5 separate regions of the Homo sapiens genome follow, and all the other regions are linked to region 5. Evidence: promoter capture Hi-C in 16 types of primary human blood cells and fetal thymus (Javierre and others, 2016). All regions are on one chromosome and are shown on one strand. The core of a region is centred on a gene start or on the middle of the fragment in contact, and the rest is flanking DNA. Distances in the headings are between cores, read along the strand shown.

Evidence for each region. Contacts are between HindIII fragments. The CHiCAGO score rates a contact against its expected background, and 5 or more counts as called.
Region 1: a contact is called between a fragment that was not itself captured here and the fragment with the promoter of BCL2A1 in region 5, in 1 of 17 cell types (neutrophils). The highest score is 6.8, in neutrophils.
Region 2: a contact is called between a fragment that was not itself captured here and the fragment with the promoter of BCL2A1 in region 5, in 6 of 17 cell types (activated CD4 T cells, neutrophils, total CD8 T cells and 3 more). The highest score is 7.5, in activated CD4 T cells.
Region 3: a contact is called between a fragment that was not itself captured here and the fragment with the promoter of BCL2A1 in region 5, in 3 of 17 cell types (monocytes, neutrophils and total B cells). The highest score is 12.1, in monocytes.
Region 4: a contact is called between a fragment that was not itself captured here and the fragment with the promoter of BCL2A1 in region 5, in 3 of 17 cell types (neutrophils, monocytes and activated CD4 T cells). The highest score is 7.1, in neutrophils.

The regions. Positions count from the first base shown.
Region 1 is chr15:80,067,883-80,070,582 of GRCh38, forward strand. All of the region lies in intron 1 of ZFAND6 (zinc finger AN1-type containing 6), which reads left to right. Among named protein-coding and RNA genes, the nearest start is that of ZFAND6, 9.6 kb to the left of the region's middle. The HindIII fragment of the contact is 4,201 bases long and covers 1-2,700 here.
Region 2 is chr15:79,859,578-79,862,416 of GRCh38, forward strand. All of the region lies in intron 3 of ST20-MTHFS (ST20-MTHFS readthrough), which reads right to left. The region is part of intron 2 of MTHFS (methenyltetrahydrofolate synthetase); the gene reads right to left. Among named protein-coding and RNA genes, the nearest start is that of MTHFS, 36 kb to the right of the region's middle. The HindIII fragment of the contact is 521 bases long and covers 1,010-1,530 here.
Region 3 is chr15:79,904,961-79,907,769 of GRCh38, forward strand. ST20-MTHFS (ST20-MTHFS readthrough) reads right to left here. Exons shown (of 4, transcript NM_001199760.2): 2 at 2,669-2,724. The coding sequence starts at 2,713. ST20 (suppressor of tumorigenicity 20) reads right to left here. Exons shown (of 3, transcript NR_037653.2): 2 at 2,669-2,746. Among named protein-coding and RNA genes, the nearest start is that of MTHFS, 9.4 kb to the left of the region's middle. The HindIII fragment of the contact is 6,214 bases long and covers 1-2,809 here.
Region 4 is chr15:79,877,175-79,879,932 of GRCh38, forward strand. The region is part of intron 3 of ST20-MTHFS (ST20-MTHFS readthrough); the gene reads right to left. All of the region lies in intron 2 of MTHFS (methenyltetrahydrofolate synthetase), which reads right to left. Among named protein-coding and RNA genes, the nearest start is that of MTHFS, 18 kb to the right of the region's middle. The HindIII fragment of the contact is 467 bases long and covers 1,210-1,676 here.
Region 5 is chr15:79,969,848-79,972,547 of GRCh38, forward strand. BCL2A1 (BCL2 related protein A1) reads right to left here and starts at 1,349. Exons shown (of 2, transcript NM_004049.4): 1 at 853-1,349. The coding sequence starts at 1,272. RefSeq lists an enhancer at 773-1,972. The HindIII fragment of the contact is 17,831 bases long and covers 1-2,700 here.

The DNA of each region.
Region 1 (2,700 bases), core at 122-2,621, 98 kb after region 5:
ATATTACATATTGAAGTAGTGATATTTTACATGTATTGTGTTAAAATATACTATTACTGTTAATTTTATTTCTTAATTAAAAAAATTTTTTTTTCTTGAGACGGAATCTTACTCTGTTGCCCAGGCTGGAGTGCAGTGGCACAATCTCGGCTCACTGCAACCTCTGCCTCCTGGGTTCAAGTGATTCTCCTGCCTCTGCTTCCCAAGTAGCTGGGACTACAGGCGAGCACCACCGCGCCTGGCCTGTTTTTTTTTTTTTTGTTTGTTTGTTTGTTTGTTTTTGAGACATGGTGTTGCCTTTGTCGCCCAGGATGGAGTGCAGTGATGTGATGTTGGCTCACTGTAGTCTCAACCTCCCTGGCTCAAGGGATCCTCCCACCTCAGCCTCCTAAGTAGCTGGGACTACAGGCGCGCCACCATGCCTGTATAATTTTTAAAAATTTTTAAAATTTTTTGTAGAGATGGGGTTTCACTGTGTTGCCCAGGCTGGTCTTGAACTTTTTTTTTGAGATGGAGTCTCGCTCTGTTGCCCAGGCTGGAGTACAGTGGCACGATCTCGGCTAACTGCAGCCTCCAGCCCCCGGGTTCAAGTGATTCTCCTGCCTCAGCCTCCGGAGTAGCTGGGATTACAGGCGAGTGCCACCACGCCTGGCTAATTTTTGTATTTTAAGTAGAGACTGGGTTTCGCCATATTGGCCAGGCTGGTCTCGAACACCTGACCTCAGGTGATCCGCCCACTGTGGCCTCCCAAAGTGCTGGGATTATAGGCGTGAGCTACCGCGCTCAGCCGGTCTTGAACTTTAGAGCTCAAGTAATCTGTCTGCCTTGGCCTCTGAAAGTCTTGGGATTACAGGCGTGAGCCACCGTGCCCAGCCAATTTTTAAATTTCAATGTGACTACTAGGAAATAGAAAACCACATGTGGCTCTCATTATGTTTCTGTGAGACAGCACTGGTCTGACTCGACCATAAGTTTGTACAGTGGTAGGGACTATATCCATTTTATTTACTGTGGTATCTTCAGCGCATAACAGACGTTCAAAAGATTTGGTGAATGAATAAACTAACTCTGTTAACTTTTGAATGTTATTGCATAGTTTACAGAGAATGTTACCTATTCAGCTTTTGCTTTTCAGAATTGTTTTCTTTGTGACTGATTAAAATGGTTGAGAAAAGCTCTTTCAGTAACTATATAAAGAATGAGTCTTCGTCTTTTATGTAATATTTTATTTATTTTTTTCTGGTTTAGGCCTCCAAGGAGAGAGAGAATTTAAAGTTGGCCAGTCTATTTTCTCTTAGTTTTTCTATGTCTAGCACTTTTTCTTAGATGATCTATGATATGTTGTTTGGCACATGAAAATTTATGACTTAAAATCTTAATAGTTGAGTATTATAAATGCCTTCTCTTTTATTTTTGTCTCACTATTGTGATCCCTGTTTCTTTTTATTTTGCATTAATCAGTGACCTTGTTTATCCCTTGAGACCTAAAACAAAGCAATGTACTGTTTTTTTGTAGAAAGATACCTTATCCTATCGGCTTGGTTTATGCTTGCTTATTTGTATGTTTCCTTAATGTTTCCTTTGTGTTCAGTGTTTGACCTCATATGCCATTCATTCAAACTCCCCAACTCCTCATACACACCTTGTAATCTTTTCCCTAAGGAGTCAGGAGAGATACACCAGGAATTGCAGGCTCAAATATATCTTACTTTTGCCAGGGAAATATTTTTTTTATTTTTTGTTATTTATTTATTTATTTATTTATTTAGAGACAGAGTCTTACTCTATAGCCCAGGCTGGAGTGCAATGTCTGCTGCCCGGGTTCAAGCAATCCTCCTGCCTCAGTCTCCCAAGTAGCTGGGATTACAGGCACCTGCCACTGCACGAGGCTAATTTTTGTAGTTCTAGTAGAGACGGGGTTTCACCATCTTGGCCAGGCTGGTCTTGAACTCCTGACCTTGTGATCCACCTGCCTCTGCCTCCGAAAGTGCTGGGATTTACAGGCGTGAGCCACCACACCTGGCCATATTTTTTTATTTTTTATTCCCCATTGAGGTGTTTTTCAGAGTTTATCCTTAGTGATCCCAGTTATGTTTTGCTAATGTCAGGGTGGTCTTTTTATCAACTACTACAATAAACCACCAGTCGTGCCAGAGAAAATGCCCAGGATTAATTTCTTTTGTAGGAAGAGCAGTTTGAACTATATGGAATCCTTCAAAATTCTAAGAAAGTGTTTGCCCTGTTCTGTATATATTCTGCCAAAAGTTGTTCCTAATAGTCTAGATATTGATTCTTTATGTAAGTAGGGTCTTTTTAATCAAAAGTGAAGTGGGACCAAATTGTTCAGTGGCTTGTTCTCTTCTAAATTGTTTTTAGCTGATAAGATTTGGGAAACTTTCTGGGCTTCCACAAATAATATACAATACATCTTTGAATACTTGATGCTTAAAAAGTGTTGTTACTGCATGCAATCAGGGAGCTCCAGAGCTTTTTGCAGGCTCCTTGTTCCTGAGAAGCAATATTGTTTTCATATTATCTCGGTTATACATTTTATGGTTGTGACATTGCTTTCTTTTTGTTTTTGCTGTTGTTTTCTGCTGCTGCTGATTTAGAAATGAAATAAGCTAACTCTTAATTTTAACCTGTTTGCTACCTAAAATGGTAATCATCTTGATGTTCTTTCAAGCAGGTCCCAGAGAT
Region 2 (2,839 bases), core at 20-2,519, 110 kb before region 5:
GAGGCCGAGGCGGGCAGATCACCTGAGGTCAGAAGTTCGAGACCAGCTTGGCCAACATGGTGAAGGCCCGTCTCTTCTAAAAATACAAAAATTAGCCAGGCATAATGGCGGGAGCCTGTAATCCCAGCTACTCGGGAGATTGAGGCAGAAGAATTGCTTGAACCCAGGAGGCAGAGGTTGCAGTGAGCCAAGATTGTGCCACTGCACTCCAGGCTGGAAGACAGAGAGAGAATACATGTCAAAAAAAAAAAAAAAAAAAAACCCTTATTTTCTCTCCCTGTATACATAGGGATTCAAATAAAAATTCAAAAAGGATTAAGACTTTAATATTTAAAAACACAAAATACTAAGATAAAATGATGATGATTTATATAAACTCAAGTGAAGTAAGAACTCCTAAAAATAAAGCCAAAGGCAAAAATCCTAAAAGAAAACATTAATAAACTTTACTAATAACATTTTAAAACATCTGTATCCTCGCCCTCAAAATACAAAAAGTTAAGAAAAAGGTTTAAAAATGAATACAAATTGGCCAGGCGTGGTGGCTCACGCCTGTAATCCTAGCACTTTGGGAGGCCGAGGTGGGCAAATCACGAGGTCAGGAGATGGAGACCATCCTGGCTAACATGGTGAAACCCTGCCTCTACCAAAAATACAAAAAATTAGCCGGGTGTGGTGTCGGGTGCCTGTTGTCTCAGCTACTCGGGAGGCTGAGGCAGGAGAATGGCGTGAACCCAGGAGGCAGAGCTTGCAGTGAACAGAGATCGCACCACTGCACTCCAGCCTGGGCAACAGAGCGAGACTCCATCTCAAAAAAAAAAAAATGGATACAAATTATTTGCAGCATACATGACAGACTAATGGTTAATCTTTTAATATATAAAGAATTGTTACCAACCTGGAAAAAAATAAATGAATACCAAGAGAAAGATAAATTCCCGGAAAGAAATGGGGCAAAGAACAGCACTTTACAAAAGATGAATTAGAAAGGTTAAAAAACATTTTAGAAAGCTTAGTATATATTTTGAAATTTTCATAAGTAGTGTATTTTAACCATTATAACTTTTCAAAGAAGCAAGGAGAAATTAAAATTTAAGGATTTTTTTTTTGATTAGTACTTCAAAACAAAACCAGAAATACTGATAAGACAAAATTAAGTTACTTCCAAGGTTGAAAATTCACACAGATGCCCACAATGAATTTCTTCTGAGAATAACTTTTTCAATATATTAATGAGGTTTCCGGTTACAGTGTACTTTCTTGAGAGACTTATTAAAAGGGGTATGTTTCCTTCTGATACAACCTCATGGCAAACCACTATTCAAAGTTAAAGACTTAATTACAACTTCCCTTCTGAAGCCTTCTCATGCACTTTAGGCAAAGAGAAATCTCCATCTTGTGTTCCCAGAGCACTCTGGGCACATCCCAATGGGATCCTTAGCACCAGGACTGAAATCACTAGTTCATGTGGAATAGTCATCGTCGTCATCATCATCATCAAGCACTTATATGCACTGGCATTGTACTAAAAGCTTTATGTAAATTTCCTATTTAATCTTCAAAACAATCTAGTGAAGCAGATATTATTACCCTCATTTTCAAATGATCAGAGGCTTAGGTGAAGGGGTTTACTCATGTCCACTCAGCTAGTATGCAGCAGTCAGTAACTAGACTCAACTCCACCTAAGACCAAAACCTTGATCCTAACCACTCCTTATCCATCGTCCCCCTCCATACACCTGTCTTCCCCAACAAAATGTGAACTCCTATGGCCAGACACCACTGCCCCTTATTTATCTTTTTGTTTCCAGGGCATCACATGGAGGCTACCACACAACTGGTAGTCATTAATGCACGTTCATTTGTTATTTCGGCCATTCACTCACTCAGGGAGAGGTCAACATACTCTCATGTGTTGGTGATGAGTACGTAAAGTGGCATAACCTTTTTTAGTAAGCAATACAGAAACACCTATAAAAATTTAGAATTCATAGCCATTTCATGGATAGATGTTGATCCCATGGACTTACTTGCATAACTATGCAGAAAAATATCTATCAGGATGTTCTTTTTTATTTTTATTTGTAATACCTAAAAAACAGAAGCAACCCAAATAGCTATCAACAGAAGACTGGTTAAATAACTTAGAGCACATCAATGCTATGTAACCACTTAAAACACTATGCTAAATCTATATGTGTTGCTATGAAAAGAGTTCTATGGTTTATCAACAAGTGAAAAAGTAGGATGCAAAACAAAATGTGAACTCCGATCCTATCTGTATAAATTTTTTAAAAGGATACAAATATATATATCTAGAAGGATACACAAGTATGTTAACAGTGGTCACATCTGGGGAACAGGCTGGGAAGAAGAGGGGTGGGACTTTTTCTTTCATACCCTTCTAAACCATTTAAATTATTTACCATGTGATTAGTTAGATGGCATGTAATTACTTTTATGAATGAATGAATTGTTGCTCTACTGTTTGGCTTTTTTTTTTCCTTTTTGTTGTTTCTAACACCAACATAGACTAAGATGAAGTACAGTTAACTTGGGTTGGCCAAGACGGCTAACTGAATCAATCCTCTCATATCCCTGTTTTTCATTCAAAGACTATGTCCTTATCTCAAATATTTGGCAGCTTGCACATAAATATGCCTCCTTCCCACCCCCAAAAAACTAACTAACACACCCTATAAGTAACATCAACCTTTCCCTCAAATTTTATTTGTTAAACCTTCAAAGGGTACATGAGAGAGGCAAGTCTTACCTGGGGTCAGCCAATTAAATCTGCTTTTTATCTACGGTTTATCACTAACTGAACATACAGCTCAAA
Region 3 (2,809 bases), core at 190-2,689, 65 kb before region 5:
TTAAAATTTAATTAAATTACAGATTGTGGCCAGGCGCGGTGGCTCACACCTGTAATCCTAGCACTTTGGGAGGCTGAGGCAGGCAGATCACGAGGTCAGGAGATCGAGACCATCCTGGCTAACACGGTGAAACCCCGTCTCTACTAAAAATCCAAAAAATTAGCCGGGCGTGGTGGTGGGCGCCTGTAGTCCCAGCTACTCGGGAGGCTGAGGCAGAAGAATGGCAGGAACCTGGGAGGCGGAGCTTGCAGTGAGCCGAGATCACGCCACTGCACTCCAGCCTGGGCGACAGAGCGAGACTCCGTCTCAAAAAAAAAAAAAAAAAAAATTATAGATTGTATGTTTTATGATCAGTGATTTCTTGAGAGTTTTTTCAGGCAAGTTAAAGCCAGTGCTCACATCTTGATAAAGTTGTGAGTGCCTCCTCTACTCTTACCTCTTCTTGCGGGCCACTGACTACTAGCATAAGGAAGTGATTGTGCCATTTCCCCTGAAATGAATCATTCAAGAGTAAATTCATTCATTTGAGCAGATTTGTCAACATCACTATGAAAAGAAGGTAACAGTTTTCCATGTCAGTTTGTACTAACCCAAAAAAGCACTGCCTTTCCTTTCCTTAAGATCAATGTCTCATCTGAGCTGGAAAAGGAGCACATAGATTGCTTTGAAATGACATCTTCAAGAGTATTTATTTCATGTCTACAACCTGAACTATTCAGGTGTTTTTTGTTTTTTGTTTTTTTAAAGAGCTTGGAAACTTTAGAAAGGCTGAGTGTGTGCACATGCAGGCAATGTGTGTATTTGTATCTACACTCGGGAGAGATTCATGCAACTGCACTCATGTTTACATGAGTGTACCACCCTCGAAAGATGAGGGTACTACTAGAAATTCTCACAGACAAGATTCCACAGCCTTTGCTAACAATGAGTTCCAGAAGCTCACAAAATTTATTGTGGAGAAGTTAAATTTTTAAGTAATATTTATTCACTGTCTGTGTGTTCCAAGTACTAAGCTAGGCATTGGAAATACAATCCAAAACCACATAGAGCCGGCAAACTAGTAGAGTATTTCTCTGCAGGCTCATCTGTGGTCCTCTGTGCCAGACAACGTTTGCCTTCACCTGAAATCTACACAGTGCAGCTGAAATTTCCACCAGTCCTCAAGTATAGCCTCCCACAGCCAACTAGAAGAAAACATGACAAAACATTTCACATGCTTCGCCCAGCCTCAGTCAGGCTCAGTTAGAAAGAACTAAGTTCCAGAAAGAAGATGACTAAGAAAGGGGAGTAGCTTCAGTAAGCTCTATCATGCAGGAAGGCCTTAAACAAAATGAAAAAGGCATCAAGTAAAAGATCAATAAATTTGATCGCAACAAATATTTAAACGGCTATAATGACCGAAGACATTGTCAGCTTTAAAGAATAATCAGCAGGCCGGGCGCGATGGCTCACGCCTGTAATCCCAGCACTTTGGGAGGCCAAGGCGGGTGGATCACAAGGTCAGGAGATTGAGACCATCCTGGCTAACACGGTAAAACCCCGTCTCTACTAAAAATACAAAAAATTAACCAGGCGTGGTGGCGGGCACCTGTAGTCCCAGCTACTCGGGAGGCAGAGGCAGGAGAATGGTGTGAACCCAGGAGGCGGAGCTTGCAGTGAGCTGAGATCGCACCACTGCACTCCAGCCTGGGAGACAGAGTGAGACTCCGTCTCAAAAAAATAATAATAATCTTAATAATCAGCAAACTAAAGATAACTGCCACATATATAAAAATAATTTGTATCCAGAATATTCAAAGAATTCCTACAAATCAATAACAGACCAAATAATAGGAAAATGGGCAAAGGATATAAACAGGCAATTCCCTGCATAAGATTTACAAATGATCAGTTAATATATGAAAAGATGCTCAAATGGAAAAATATTTAACCTTACTGGGAATCAAGGAAACAAGAATTAAAACAAGATAAACTCTGCAGTTTTTTAGCCCAACAAATTAAGGAAAGTATAACAGATTGCTACAAACTAACATTAGTCAGCTGGGGTAGGGAGACATGGATACTCTAACAAGCTGCTGATGGGAGTGTAACTTGGTGGAGCCACTTTGGAAGGCAAGGACCTAGTAAATGAAAAAATGTACGTACACCATGACCCAGCATCTACAACCCAACATCCACCCTAGAAAACTACACACATGCATGAGGAAAAATGACATTCAATAAAGCACTGTGTGTGATAACAAACCTGAAATAACCTAAACAGCTATCAGCCACAAATGGCCAGATACTCTACAGCATTTACATACATTAGAATATACATAGCACTTTTAATAATACTATTTTAAATACCTTTGGATAAAAAAAGTTGCAGAATTACCACCATGTACTGTTTTTACATATACACATGTAAATATATGTATGCAAGATTTTTATGTATATATAAAATACATAAACATACATGTACATATATGTACATATATGTATGCTCATATAAAACATTTTACATAAAACATTTACAAAAACTTTTTTTACAAAGAAGTATTATGTTAGCCTGGCCAACATGGTGAAACCCCATCTTTACTAAAAATAAGCACCAAAAAAATTAGCCAGGCGTGGTGGCAGCCACCTGTATTCCCAGCTACTCCAGACTCTGAGGCAGGAGACTCACCTGAACCTGGGAGACAGAGGTTGCAGTGAGCCGAGATCGCGCCATTGCACTCCAGCCTGGGCGACAGAATGAAACTCTCTTAAAAATAAATAAATAAATAAGAAAGAAATAACTTATATTACCAAAGCCTTAAAACCTACA
Region 4 (2,758 bases), core at 193-2,692, 93 kb before region 5:
AAAGAAAAAAAAGACTGAAGAAAAATGAACACAGCCTAAGTGACTTGTGGGACAATATCAAGAATACCAATATACTATACATGGAATAAGAGTCCTAGAAGGAGAAGAGAGACAATGTGGCAGGAAAAAAATTTTTTTTGAAAAATAATGGCTGAGAACCTCCTATAGTTGATGAAAAAATTAATCTACAGACCCAAGAAGCTCAATAAATCCCATATAGGATAAAACTAAAGAAATCTACACATGCCAGGCACGGTGGCTCATGCCTGTAATCCCAGCACTTTGGGAAGCCACGGCGGGTGGATCACGAGGTCAGGAAATCAAGACCATCCTAGCCCACATGGTGAAACCCCATCTCTACTAAAAATACAAAAAAATTAGCCAAGCGTAGCAGTGCACACCTGTAGTCCTAGCTACTTGGGAGGCTGAGGCAGGAGAATTGCTTGAACCCGGGAGGCAGAGGCTGCAGTGAGCCAAGATCATGTCACTGCACTTCAGCCTGGTGACAGAGCGAGACTCTATCTCAAAAAAAAAAGAAAAGAAATCTACATTTTTACACATCAGAGTCAAACTGCTGAAAGAGAAAAATAACTTATTATAAAAAGGGAAATACAAAAATAGAATGAATGATGACTTCTCATCAGAAACAATGGAGGCCACAAGGCAGAAGAATAACATTGAACATGCTGAAAGGAAAAAAAATACATATGTCAACTAAGAATTTCATATTCAGCAAAACCCTTTCAAAAATAGAGGCAGAATAAGACATTCCTAGATAAACAAAAACTGAGAGAATTAATTACTGGCAGAGCTGTCTGAGAAAGACTAAAGAAAATCCTTTGGGCCAAAAGGAAATTACACTGGATGGTAACTTGAATTCACAGGAAAGAATGAAGAACACTGGAAACAGTAAGTAGGAAGGTAAACACAAAAGACTGGTTTTTTCTCTTTTCTTCTATTCCTTTTTAAAACATAAGAGTTCTTAAAGCAATAATTATAATACTATTTGTTAGATTTATAGTACATACAGATGTAACTTATACTGTCGTGTGAATTAGGAGGACAAGAGAGACCTCGGGGTAAACCAGGAGGATCTTTTCTGAGTGCACTCAGACCCAGCAGACTCAACATCCAAAAACTGAGCCAAGAACAAAGACAGCACTTGACGCTTATACACACTTCTAAAAGGGGATGGGCTAACTTGAGTCAAGCTTACACTGGCGCAAAGCAAAAGCAAGGATACAGAGGCAAGACAAGACGGTTAATCAAATTGTAACAGGTTCATAACTCAGGATTACACATGACCATTGCTATGCAACTCAGATGGCCATTATCTAGTTTGCCGTAGTGCCTAGCAAGGCTTATTCCATGGCCTTCACTATGGTGCCCAGGTGGCCGTATCTCAGGCCTGCTCAGTTGCTTTATGACCATCACTCCACTGCTTAGATAAAACAGAATACTAGAAGTCACTAGTTACAGGGAACAGGAATCTATAAACTCATACTGTAAAACAAAGAGAAATTTGTTTTTCTTCTCCCTATGTGGAGGGAGTGGTGGGAGAGTCTCCAGAGCACATTCTTCTGTGTCCTGGCTTCTTAGATAGTATTATCAAGACTTTTCCTGGGTTTCAGCTGTGCTTGTTGCTGCCTCTGGGACAAGTCAGCCTAGCACAGGAAAGCTTATTCCCTTTTTTTTTTTCTTTCTTTCTTTAATTTCCTGCCTCAATATGACAATAATAACATAAATGGGGAAGGAAGAATGGAATTATATAAGAGCAAAGTTGCTGTATTTTACTGGAGTCAGATGAATACTAATCTGAAACAGACTGTACTAAATAAAAGATGTAATCCCTCCAGAAACTGCAAAAACAATTTAATACATAGCTTAAAAATCAACAGAGGAACTAAAACAGCACATCAAAAAAAATTTAACACAAAAAATTTTCATTTTCATTTGTATCATGCTTTTCATTTGTATCATCCATTAGTGGAATTTTGAAATTCCACTAAATGACCAGTACTTCCCAAATTTTTCACTAAGGTAACTGCAGAGAAAGTTAAAATCCCTGGAGGGTCTGCCTGCAGGCCTGCCCACAGAGGCAAAGTTTTTGCTTTAATATTTTGTGTTTTACCTTTAAATTATTACCCTTTTTTTTTTTTTTTTTTTTTTTTGAGTCAGAGTCTCACTCTGTCCCCCAGGCTGGAGTCCAATGGTGTGATCTTGGCTCACTGCAACTTCCGCCTCCTGGGTTCAAGCAATTCTCCTGCCTCAGCCTCCTGAGTAGCTGGGATTACAGGCACCCACCAGCATGCCCAGCTAATTTTTTTCCTTAAAATTTGTGAATTTTATTTATCTTCTATATGCTACCTTTGTGATTGTATTTGTTATAAAACTAATGTGTGGTTTGTATGTTTATATGTTTGTTTTTCTGGTTTGTTTCTGCTAAAATGTTGAAGTAAAATTAATAGTTGAAGAAAATTTACCCAATAAGGCCTGTAATAGATGCATGCCTTCTTGAGAAGCAGAGGCCTAAATCAGTGGCTTTCAAACATTTTAGAAACTCAGTAAGAAAAACATCATGACCCATTTTATACACAGCACATGCATATACACACACACATGCACACATATATACACACAAAACTCTGACTAAAATCAAAATTTCTTTCCTAGCTCTTTCTTGTTTTTTAATTAATCACAGGACTTCTTACAAGTGATTCTGGTTCCCTGTGTCACTACACCCAAAGAACACTTAAAT
Region 5 (2,700 bases), core at 99-2,598:
CTCTTGGGAGAGGTGAAGGCCGTTGGAGAGAGGATCAATGAACACTTAAGTGCTTTAAAAAAATAATTATTAAGTATATTGGAATATAAAGGAAACCATATACATCCAGCTGTGTCAGGCTTTTTACCAACATGAGTTTCAACACAGGCCTCTACATAGTCTTGGCTTTTTTAGGCACTGATAATAAAGTAAATTTTTATTTGAAAATTCTTGAATAAAGGTTCTTGCTGGTCATACAGTATATTATGTTTTAATCAACAAACTTTAACAGCCCGGAATTTATTATTAGTAATAATGTGTTATATATTATATGTAATGTAATTTGCTATATATTAATATATGTTACTATTTATTATGTATTAGTAAACTGAAAAACACCAATTTGTAAGCGATGAACTTACAAAAATTTACACCTGTCTTTTGCAACCCATAAATACCTAAAAATAACAGCATCTGATAGCAACTTTCTGTGCTGATTGTAGAAATTTCTGTACTGTCTGTACTGTCATGACAACCCTAGCAAAAGCTAAGTACTAGATTAGAGTGTGTGCACAGCTGATTGTGAAGCTGCATGAGAGAGGTGCTTTATTAATCCCCAAAGCTCACTACTGTAATTTATACTGTTAAGAATAAAAACTGAAAACATAAGTGCTTTCCAACTATAAAGTTCAAGTTCAAGGATTCATTGGAAATAAGCCAGAAAGTATATTTTTATTTTAAAAATTAAAACAAACCACCCAAGGAAAATAGTATTCTTAGGTAAAGTGTTTTGTTGTTGTTTTAACTAGCAAGGAAATTCTCAATTTCTATTTCACAGGAAAGAACAATGAAGAATTTTTCCATCACACATACCCAGCCTCCGTTTTGCCTTATCCATTCTCCTGTGTTATTCATTATGAACTCCGCAACAAAATATGAAATCTCCTTATAGGTATCCACATCCGGGGCAATTTGCTGTCGTAGAAGTTTCTTGATGAGAATACCTTCAAATGCAAATATGGTTACAATTCTTCCCCAGTTAATGATGCCGTCTTCAAACTCCTTTTCCATCACTTGGTTGAATAGTGTTCTGGCAGTGTCTACGGACACAACATTAACATTGTCCAAGCATGACTTCAGATTCTTTTCCACTTCTTTTTGGACTGAGAACGCAACATTTTGTAGCACTCTGGACGTTTTGCTTGGACCTGATCCAGGTTGTGGTATCTGTAGGACGCACTGCAGATAGTCCTGAGCCAGCCTGTAAATATATCCAAATTCACAGTCTGTCATCTTCTGCCTGGTGGAGAGCAAAGTCTTGAGCTGGCTCACCTTGAAGCTGTTGAGGCAATGTGCTGAGAATGCTCACTGAGCTTGACTGAGTTATGACACATGATGATACATGGAGGCTGGTGGAATTTCTGTTTGCATCACTTTATAATATCCTTCCTCCTAGTCACTTTCGTGCGTAGGCTGTGTTTCATGTCATGTATGAAAGAGAAAGTTTAAAATGTGAAAGAGGAAAATGTTTCAGAGAAGCCACTTCCTCATCCTGTGATTAATTCAGCTTTGCAAGTCTTAAATGCAGGATGTGGAGAAATTAGAATCCTTGTAGATTGCTGGTGGGAATGTGAAATGGTACAACCCCTGTGAAAATGTTGGCAGTTTCTCAAAAAGTTAAATACAGAATTGTCAAAAGACCCAGCAATTCCATTCATAGGTATACACCCAACAGATACTCAAATACTTACATACGAATGTACATGGCAGCACTATTCACAATAGCCAAGATGTGGACACAACTCAAATGTTCATCAACAGACGAAAGGATAAATAAATTATGGAACATTATTCATCCCAAAAAAGGAATGAAGAACTGATACATGCTTCAACAGGAATGAACCTCAAAAACATTAGGCTAATAGAAAGAAGCCAAACAGAAAAGGTCATACATTATGTGATTCTATTTCTATGAAATATCCAGACAGTTAAATCCATAGGATAGAAAGCAAATTGGTGGTTGACAGGGGCTGAGAAGAGGAAGGAGTAACTGCTTAATGGGTAGAAGGTTTTCTTTTGTGTGATGAAAATGTTTTACAAGGCCGGCCGCGTTGGCTCACGCCTGTAATCCTAGCACTTTGGGAGGACAAGGCGGGCGGATTGCCTGAGCTCAGGAGTTTGAGACCAGCCTGGGCAATATGGTAAATCCCCGTCTGTACTAAAATACAAAAAATTAGCCAGGCGGGTGGCGTGTGCCTGTAATCCCAGCTACTCGGGAGGCTGAGGCAGGAGAATTGCTTGAACCCGGGAGACAGAAGTTGCAGTGAGCCAAGATCACGCCACTGCACTCCAGTCTGGGCAACAGAGCGAGACTCTGTCTCCAAAAAAAAAAAGAAAAGAAAATGTTTTGCAGCTAGATAGAGGTGGAAGTTGCACAACACTGCGAAGGTACTAAATGCCACTGAATTGTTCACTTTAAAATGGTTCTGTGAATTTCAAATTTAAGAAAAGTCTTAAACGCCATCCACGGGGTAAACCGGAGTAACGACAATTTGGAATGGAGACTACAAAACAGCCTGGGTGGCAGAGAACAGGGCCTCTCGAGGTGACTCTGGCAGTACCGCCCTTGATCATTTGTAATTGAGTAAGGATGATACCGAGAGGGAAGAAAAAAATACCCTCTTTGGGCCAGGCACGGTGGCTCACCCCTGTAATCCCAGC